2 separate regions of the Homo sapiens genome follow, and region 2 is linked to region 1. The links are contacts of gene promoters, found by promoter capture Hi-C in blood cells and fetal thymus (Javierre and others, 2016). All regions are on one chromosome and are shown on one strand. The core of a region is centred on a gene start or on the middle of the fragment in contact, and the rest is flanking DNA. Distances in the headings are between cores, read along the strand shown.

Region 1 (4,630 bases), core at 606-3,105:
AATGAATGAATGAATGAACACGGCGCTTCGCAAAACCAGGAAAAGGCAGAGGCTCACAGAACCAGGGAACGATGGGCTGGGGGGAGCGGCAAGAATTACGCAATTATGCAGGGGCCGCTGTGACTACCAGGCACCCCCTCCAACTCCCCCCCTACAAGGGCTGCTCTGGGTCAGAGAACGTCCACCGCGCTGACTGCTGGGGCTGGGGGCTGGGGGCGCAGATCAGAAAGAATGGGCCTGAATTGCTCCCAGGCTGGGCATGTGGCGCCCGCGTCTGGGGCTCCAGTGGGTGGGTGGCCCCTCCCGCATGGACGGCGGGCGCAGGGGAGCTCGGTGCTGATGTCTCTCTCCTTTAATAACCACCCTGCGTGAGTGGCTGACGCAGCAGCCGGCTGCCGCTGACGGGGAGTGGGGCGGCTGTAGTGGGGGGGCCCGAGGTGCAGAGGGGGTGGTGATGAATCACACAGCTGCTGCCTGGGGGAGGGGGTCTTGAGCCCATGAGGGGTCCCAGAGACCTTGTCACTGGAGACAGCGCCCCTGGCTACCCCCACCTCGATCCACTTGAGGGTGGAAGTGAGTCTGAGGTCAGGAGTGGGGCCGGGATTTCCCTGGGATGAGCAGCAAAGCGGGGGTCTCTGTACGCCAACTTCCCCCAGCTTGTCAGCAGAGGGTCATCCCTCCGAAGACTTTCTGGGGCAGAGAGGCAGGGGTCCGCGCTGGCTTCTTCCACCAGGGCTGGGGGAGGCGGCGGCATGAGATGACTCCTGGGCGAGGAGCAAGTGGTGGCCATAGAGGGCCCCCCAGAGGCTTTGGGGCCGCCGAAGAGTAGTGAGTGAGGGTCCTTGTAAAGCTGGTTCTCCAGATGGCGGCGGCTTTAAGACTCCCCTCCGCCAACCAGGCTCAGTAGGGGAGGCCTGTGGAAGGAGAGAAAAGGCCTGGGTGGAGGAGCAGAGTGGGCCTGGCCCCGCGTGGGGAGCGAGTGCGCCGTTGCTGTGCAGCACGGTGGGAGGGGAGGCCGAGGGCCGGGCGGAGTGCTGGGGTGCAGTGGGGACTCGGGGTGTCCGCCTGCACCCGACAGCAGGGACGCACAACACTATCCGGCCAGGCGAGTGTGGGGGTGTGGGCCACGCACCCAGCCGTGATAATCGCGGTTCCAGTGGGAGTTAGGCTTGGGTGCGGGTTGGAGTTTGTAGGCAAACTGGGTTGCGTAAAGTTGGGGTGCACCAAAGTGTGGCGATGTAGGAAGAATTGGGATTGCGAATATTGGGGTTCGCATGAATGGGGTTGTCTCTGTTGGGGTTTTGGTGGGCATGGGGTTGATGGCAGGAATGGAGTGCTGGGGTGCTGGGAAAACTGGGACGTCGGTTGTATTGGCAAGAATATCACGACAGGTGTCGGGGTTCAGATGAAGTTGGGATGTCTGACAGCCGGGTCTTGGTTGGGTAGGGGATCTGGGCTAGGTTGTTATGTCGGGACTGCTGGAGCACAGGCAAAGTCGGGGTCCCAGTGACACCCAGAAGTCCCCATGAGGCCTGAGGCCTGGGAATCGGGGCTAGAGGCCCATTTGTTCCCCGCCGCAGGCCAGGGAGCAGGCACGCGTAACTGGGTCAGCCCCGCCCCGCCCCGCCGCGCGCTGGTCACGCCCCCTCGAGCGCGGGTGGAGGACTGCGGACTGCAAACGTCTCGGCCAATAGTCGAGCCCGACACCAGTCCGCGGGAGGGGGCGGAACCGAGATAGACTCGGCCCCCAGCTCATGAATATAAGACGCAGGCGCGCCCTCTGATTGGCCCAGGATGTGTAGGGGGCGGGGCCCGGCGGAAGCGTATATAAGGCCGGGCTCGGGGACGCCCCCCCCTCACTCGCGCGTTAGGAGGCTCGGGTCGTTGTGGTGCGCTGTCTTCCCGCTTGCGTCAGGGACCTGCCCGACTCAGTGGTGAGGGCCCTGGCTGCACCGGCTCCGAGGAGCTCGGGGCGGCGGGCGGCCTGCGGCGGCCAGGCGAGGCGGGGCCGCAGCGGCACGCCCCTGGGAGGGGGCGGGCCCGGGGTGGAGTCCGCCCCGCCGGCGGCGAGGGACAGCGGGAGATTGGGCCGAGTAGCGGCCAGAGGGCCTCTCCCCGCCGGTCCGGGCCGCCGGCGACCCGGTTGCCGCCGCAAAATGGCGGCCGCGAGCTCGAGGCTGTGCCCAGCGAAATGGCGGGAGCGCCGAGTTCCCGGATGGAGTGGCGCAGGGTGCGCGCGGGGCGCATGCGCACGCGGCGGGGGCGGGGCCACGTGGCGCCCCCGGTCTCCAGGGCCGCTTTCCCGGCCTTGGGGCTGGAGGTATCCACACACCAACGCTTTTGCTTACCGAGCCTTAGTTTCCTCCTTTTCCCATTGCGATTGCATGAGGGAAAGGACGGCCTCGTAAATCTTGGGTAGGCGTGGCCCGTTCTAGTGTGGTTCCTCGTCTGCCACGTCGTGCTTTGCGCCCAAAGTTTGGTCCAAGTTGGCACAGCTCCCAGTGCCAGACTTCCAAGTCTAGTTCTCAGAGCCACTGGGTGGCGGCCATTCCCAGCCAGTGAATGCTTTGTCTGTGTCAGCACTGACCGCCCCCTTAAATAGCCAGTTCTCCTAAATGCCACTTCCCCTGCCTGGAAATCCTGCCTTATCACTTCCGGGGCCATCCCTTCCCGATTCCCGGCCTAGGTCCTGGCTATGGAAGTCAGTACCTGCCCTGAGGTGCCCCCCAGGACGGGGCGGCCTCCCTGACAGCCAGCCCCCCCCCCAGTCTCAGGAGGCATTTTACAGTGAGCAGAAGCACGTTCTGGTCCAGCAACAAGTAGATGTCAGTTGGTTAGGGTAGGAGTTGGCACCCGTTCGGAAATAGGAGAACCTGAGAGTGCAGTCCTGCCCAGGGCACAACTGGAAGGCTGTGGGGGAAGGGAGACACCCATTGTGGAAATGGGTGCGGCCTGCCTTCAGTCTTGGGGGTGGATGGAGTAAATTATTTGAATTAAGAAGTCCTAGGTGGCTGGGTGCGGTGGCTCACACCTGTAATCCCAAAACTTTGGGTGGCCAAGGTGGGAGGATTGCTTGAGCCCAGGAGTTTCAGACCAGCCTGGGCAACAGAGCAAGACCCCATCTCTACTAAAACAAATTTAAAAAAATTATCCAGGCGTGGTGGTGTACACCTACAGTCCCAGTTTCTTGGGAGGCTGAGGTAGGAGGATTGCTTGAGCCCAGGAGGTGGAGGCTGCAGTGACCCCTGCACTCCAGTCTGGGTGACAGTTAGACACACTGCCCCCGACCCCAAAAAAATAAGTCCTAGGTATGAGTTTGAGATAATGAAAAATAAAAATCTGATTTTCTAATATTTCCCCTAAAAAACACATGTCATTTACATAAAATAGGAAGCGGGGAGAGGTGGTGAGAGATGACCCCTGTTGAGGATTTCATTGGTGTCTGCCACAGGCCGCCATGGCATCAGATGAAGGCAAACTTTTTGTTGGAGGGCTGAGTTTTGACACCAATGAGCAGTCGCTGGAGCAGGTCTTCTCAAAGTACGGACAGATCTCTGAAGGTGAGGCTGCTGCTGGGCCCGCGGCCCTGGGCGGGGGGGCTTGTGCTCCTCCTACCTGGAAGTACAGCTGGGTGCTGACTGCAGACCTCTCTCCCCTGCACAGTGGTGGTTGTGAAAGACAGGGAGACCCAGAGATCTCGGGGATTTGGGTTTGTCACCTTTGAGAACATTGACGACGCTAAGGATGCCATGATGGCCATGAATGGGAAGGTGAGGATCAGGGTGCTGAGCAGGAGTCCCGTCTCGAGGATGGGGCACCCACCTGCTAACCCGTCCCGCCCTCTGTCTCCAGTCTGTAGATGGACGGCAGATCCGAGTAGACCAGGCAGGCAAGTCGTCAGACAACCGATCCCGTGGGTACCGTGGTGGCTCTGCCGGGGGCCGGGGCTTCTTCCGTGGGGGCCGAGGACGGGGCCGTGGGTTCTCTAGAGGTGAGTGCCATGAGTGGGTCCCTTGGGGATGCTGTGAGGTACTGCTGGTGGGAGCTGGTACTCACTTTTTCCTGTATGTGCAGGAGGAGGGGACCGAGGCTATGGGGGGAACCGGTTCGAGTCCAGGAGTGGGGGCTACGGAGGCTCCAGAGACTACTATAGCAGGTGAGGGGGAGGCCGGCCCAAGCACAGGGGTGGTTGCGGGATGGCCAGCTTCCGTCCCGGGTCCCAGGTCCCTGGGGGAGCTGAGATGAGACTGGCTGGGCAAGGAGCAGAGGCAGGTGGGGACCCAGGCCAAGAGGAGAGGAGACTGCTCAGGACATTCGCAGAAGCGGGAGGGCCTGGGGGACAGGCTGGTGGAGATTTTGAACAATTTCCAAGATGCTGCCCTGCTGGGGTCCTTGTTGTGTCCCCAGAAGGGACGGCTGGCATGGGGGCTGGCGGCTCAGCCTGTTGTGGCAGAGCAGAAGTAGACGGGTACCTTCCGGTACTCAACGTTTGTCTGTCTTGCAGCCGGAGTCAGAGTGGTGGCTACAGTGACCGGAGCTCGGGCGGGTCCTACAGAGACAGTTATGACAGTTACGGTAAGTCACACTCCGAGGGCGCCACGCTGCTGTGGCCTGCGGTGGGAGCTCGGTT
Region 2 (4,630 bases), core at 653-3,152, 530 kb after region 1:
CGCCCTATCGCACTCCAGCCTGAGTATCAGAGCAAGATTCTGTTTCAAAAAAAAAAAAAAAGAAAAGAAAACTGAGCTGCCCCTGCTCCCCACCTACTCTGTCTCAGACACCTGCTCCCACCCCCAGACCCTCAGCTCTCTTTTGCCTCCAGACCTTCTTGGAGGACTGTTTCCCTGCCAGGAACACCTTCCCTATGCTTTGCACAGCAAATTCTTTTTTTTTTTTTTTCTCGGGGGTGGGGGATAGGGTCTCACTTTGTCACCCAGGCTGGAGTGCAGTGGCCCAATCATAGCTCACTGCAGCCTCGAACTCCTGGGCTCAAGTGATTCTCCTGTCTCTACCTTCCAAATAGCTGGGATCATAGGCACATGCCATCACACCCGGCTAATTTCTTTGTATATATATATATTTTTTAAATAGAGGTGGTTTCACCATGTTGCCTGGGCTGGTCTCGAACTCCAGAGCTCAAGCAAGCTGCACACCTGAGCCTCAAAACGCTGAGATTACAGGCAGAAGCCACCACACCTGGCCTGCATGGCGAATTCTGACTATCACTCAAGACCTTCTATGCAGTCCACCCACCCGGTGCCTTCCCCAGCTGGGGCTCCCCCAGTCCCAGGCCCCTCCCTCTGACCCCTCAACTTTGGCTCTCTGAGCCCCTTCCTTGGGCCCCTCATTTCTCAAGGGCCAGACCCAGGGTTGGGGCCTCTAGGGGCTGGGAGGAAACTGGGCAGGCCCAGAGAGCAGGCACCCCAAGGGTGGTCGGGGGGTCCCCAAGGAAGGTGCCCTTACGGCTTCTTACCCCCCGACCCTGCCCCCAGCTTTGTGCTCCAAGGGGTGGCCTTAGGTCTCAAATTTGTTTATTTATTTATTTTTATTTATTTATTTTTTGAGATGGAGTCTCACTCTGTTGCCCAGGCTGGAGTGTAGTGGCGCGATCTTGGCTCACTGCAAGCTCTGCCTCCCGGGTTCAAGCGATTCTCCTGCCTCAGCCTCCCGAGTAGCTGAGACTACAGGCCTGCACCACCACATCTGGCTGATTTTGTAGTTTTAGTAGAGACAGGGTTTCACCAGGTTGGTCAGGCTGGCCTCGAACTCCTGACCTCAAATGATCTGCCCGCCTCCCAAAGCACTGGGATTACAGGCGTGAGCCATCGCGCCAGCCTGTTTATTAAGAGACAGGGGTCTCGCCCTGTCGCCCAGGCTGGAGTGCAGTGGTGCGATCACAGCTTGCTGTAGCCTCCACCTCCTGCACTCAAGCGATCCTCCTGCCTCAGGCTCCCAAAGTGCTGGGACCACAGGCACGCGCCACCATGTCTGATTTCCCTTTTGTTGTTGATGGGGCACGGGTCCAAGAGCTTGGGCTTGACACAGCAGAGGAGCTTCACGGACATTGGCAGCCTCCGACAGGCCTTGACCCTTCTTCCGGCCTCAATTTACCCATCCATTCCCTGGGGTGGCTGAGCTAAGCTGACCTGCTGAGCTCCTGGGCTCTAGGTCATTATTGTGACCGCACTTCCAGTTCAGAGTGCCCCCACATCCTGGCAGAGCAGGGGACACAGGACATCTTCCCACACACACCCCGCTGCCCTGTGCTCCATGCTGCTGGGGCCCCAGCAGAACCTGTGAGGAGCCCCCAGGCTGGACGCAGAATCCTCTGGCCCTGTAGGGTCAGGGCTGGACCAGGGGGAGGCAGCCTGGGGTGATGACAGCCCCATGTTGGCAGGGGGTGGGGCAGGAAAGGCCCCATGTGTGGGGAGCTTGTGGCTGAGTCATGAGGACACCGAAAGCTTCTGAATGACAAAGGTGCAGGGAAGACCCTCCCAGCACAGGAAACAGCATGTGCAAAGGTGCCAAGGCAGCACCTGAGAGTGGGGAAGTCACAAGCCAGAAACTGGGTCCTAGGGAGTCCCTTGGTGAGGCCAAAGAGAGACCAGGCTGGAGAGGTCAGCAGGGGACAGAAAAAGCCTCAAATCCTGGGCCGAGGAGTTCGGGCTTCCCCCACAGAGTGGGAAGCTTTGGAGCAGACGGAGCTGAGTGTGTCCTGGCAGCTGGGCCAGCTCAACCGCACGGTCGTCTTGTGCAAATGAGAAAAATACACCCTTGGCCGGGCGCGGTGGCCTACGCCTGTAATCCCAGCACTTTGAGAGGGCGAGGCGGGTGGATCACCTGAGGTCACGAGTTGGAGACCAGCCTGGCAACATGGTGAAACCCCATCTCTACTAAAAATACAAAATTGGCCGGGCGTGGTGGCGGGCGCCTGTAGTCTCAGCTACTCAGGAGGCTGAGGCAGGAGGATAGCTTAAGCCTGGGAGGCAGAGGTTGCAGTGACTCAAGATTGCACCATTGCACTCCAGCCTGGGCAACAGTGCAAGACTCCCTCTCAAAAAAGAAAAGGCAGGCTGGGCGCGATGGCTCATGTCTGTAATCCCAGCACTTTGGGAGGCCAAGGGGGCAGATCACCTGAGGTCAGGAGTTCAAGACCAGCCTGGCCCACATGGCGAAAACCCATCTCTACTAAAAATATTAAAATTAGCTGGGTGCACTGGCGTGTGCCTGTAATTCCAGCTCCTCGGGAGGCTGAGGCAGGAGAATCACTTGAACCCGGGAGGCGGAGGTTGCAGCGAGCCAAGACTGTGCCACTGCACTCCAGCCTGGGCGACAGAGCAAGACTCTGTCTCAAAGAAAAGAAAAGAAAGACAAGACAAGAAAAAGAAAAAGACGCTCTCTCTCTGGGGGCTACACTTGGGAGTTCAGCTGCCTCCCAGCCGGTGTGTGTGTGTTTTGTGTGTTGCCGGGGGAGGGTGTTTTGTACAGTGCACAACATACCTCACTGTACATAGCCATCCCAGGTACCTGCAGCCTTCCATTTCTCCGTACAGTCTCCTCCCCTGCCTCCTCCTCCTCCTGTCCCTACACACACACACACACACACACACACACACACACACACACACACACACACACACACACACACATAAGCCAGCCTTCCTGAAGGGACTCACAGCCAAGGCCTCCTCTGTGGCAAATTCCATTGCCCCCCTCCTGTGCAAGCGTTCGAAGATGACCGTGTCGGCGCCCTTGGTGTACAGGCAGATGGCGCCCTCTGGCTTTCGAACTGTGGGGGAACAGGCCCTGCTGCCCACAGAGGCTCCCCGTCTGCCCGCCCCACCTTGGGGGGCCCAGGGCTTGGGTGGCGGGGCTCACCCAGCACCGACATCCGTTTGCGCGTGCTGTTGAAGTCCATTATGGCCAGGACCTGGTAGACCCGTTCCTCCCCCAGCTCCATGATCGTGACGGTGTCCTGGGTGCGGGACAGGAACACGTAGCCGAAGTTCCGGGCTGCGGTGACCAGCGCCCCCTCGTCGGGGGAGGCCGCCTGGTACAACAGCTGGTCTGGTAGGGAGGGGGGCCATTTTGGGGTCACGTGGTGGAGCCCGTCTCCATCTCCACAGTGCAGGGAGGAGATGGGTATCGCCTGGGCTACACCTTTATTGATGGTGGCCGGGGACCCCCGCCTGTACAACCCAATGCATGGAGGTGAGCACTTGAGACTAGACGACCTTCCCGCTCAACAACAGATCCTCGGGCTCCGACCGCAGGCCTGGACATCCTTTAGCCCTGACGATGACACGTCCGCCCTCCCGCCACGATGCTTGTCAGCACTGTCTGGGCTCCAGGCCCGGACGCCCTCGAGGTGCGGCTGGTGTCACACCGGCCTCAGCGCCCCCCAAGCCAGCTGAAAGCCCTGGAAGATGGGCCGGGTGAGCTGCGGGGCTGGGGACACTGCCGTGCCCCGGGGGCTGAGCGGCCTCAGAGATGGGGAGGTGGGTGGGCGCACCTGGGCGCTCACGGGGGCTCTCCCGCACCATCACCGTGTGGCAGATGGCCAGCAGGCGCCAGAACTCCCGCACGGCCTCGTCCCCGTTGGTCCGCACGAGGTGCAGCAGGGCCGCATTGTGGAAGAGCAGCTTCCCGTCGGCGAACTTGTTCCAGAGGTAGGGGTTCTCCTGGGGGTGGCGGGGGCACGGGCCGGCTGTGGGTGGGCCGCTCCCCGTGCCCCGTCCCCCTCACCGTCCCGCGCTGCAAGCCAGGCAGGCTCACCTTAGGTCGGGTCGTGGCCTCTGAATCCGGCCCTGGGGAAAGACACAGCTTCCTGCTTCAGCTCCCACAGGCCCCCCATTCGGGATCCCATAGCCCCTGACCCCTAGTTTCAGGCTTCCGGGGGCCACTGGTGCAGCCACACAAGCCAGGCCTGTGGCCCTGGAACCGACACCCCGAGCAATCTTGGGGCGAAAGCTGACCTCAGTTTCCACCACCTGCAGAAAGCGGGGAAGAGGGGAGCACACCCATCCTGTCTCCCAGGGACCCCAAAAGGACAGCCTGGAGCCGGATGCGGCCCCGTCCCGTCTCCCAGGGACCCCAAAAGGACAGCCTGGAGCGGGATGCGGGCTAGGGACCCCAAAAGGACAGCCTGGAGCGGGATGTGGCCCCTTCCTGTCTCCCAGGGACCCCAAAAGGACAGCCTGGAGCGGGATGCAGCCCCATCCGTGGGACACACTTTGTTTCCTCCTCCTGGGGTTTTTGTTCTTTTTTATTTTTATTTATTTATTTATTTATTTATTTATT

Evidence for each region. Contacts are between HindIII fragments. The CHiCAGO score rates a contact against its expected background, and 5 or more counts as called.
Region 2: a contact is called between a fragment that was not itself captured here and the fragment with the promoter of CIRBP in region 1, in 1 of 17 cell types (naive B cells). The highest score is 5.0, in naive B cells.

Annotation. Positions count from the first base shown.
Region 1 is chr19:1,267,477-1,272,106 of GRCh38, forward strand. CIRBP (cold inducible RNA binding protein) reads left to right here and starts at 1,856. Exons shown (of 6, transcript NM_001300829.2): 1 at 1,856-1,934; 2 at 3,452-3,560; 3 at 3,664-3,770; 4 at 3,853-3,991; 5 at 4,075-4,156; 6 at 4,505-4,630. The coding sequence starts at 3,458. It overlaps CIRBP-AS1 (CIRBP antisense RNA 1), which reads right to left and starts at 2,784. Exons shown (of 2, transcript NR_027271.1): 1 at 2,349-2,784; 2 at 1-914. RefSeq lists silencers at 1,533-1,742, 1,953-2,112, 2,163-2,472. The HindIII fragment of the contact is 17,228 bases long and covers 1-4,630 here.
Region 2 is chr19:1,792,869-1,797,498 of GRCh38, forward strand. ATP8B3 (ATPase phospholipid transporting 8B3) reads right to left here. Exons shown (of 29, transcript NM_138813.4): 15 at 4,106-4,137; 16 at 3,843-4,011; 17 at 3,209-3,397; 18 at 3,007-3,119. Among named protein-coding and RNA genes, the nearest start is that of ATP8B3, 17 kb to the right of the region's middle. RefSeq lists enhancers at 2,742-3,554, 2,962-3,256, 3,555-4,366 and a silencer at 2,962-3,256. The HindIII fragment of the contact is 226 bases long and covers 1,790-2,015 here.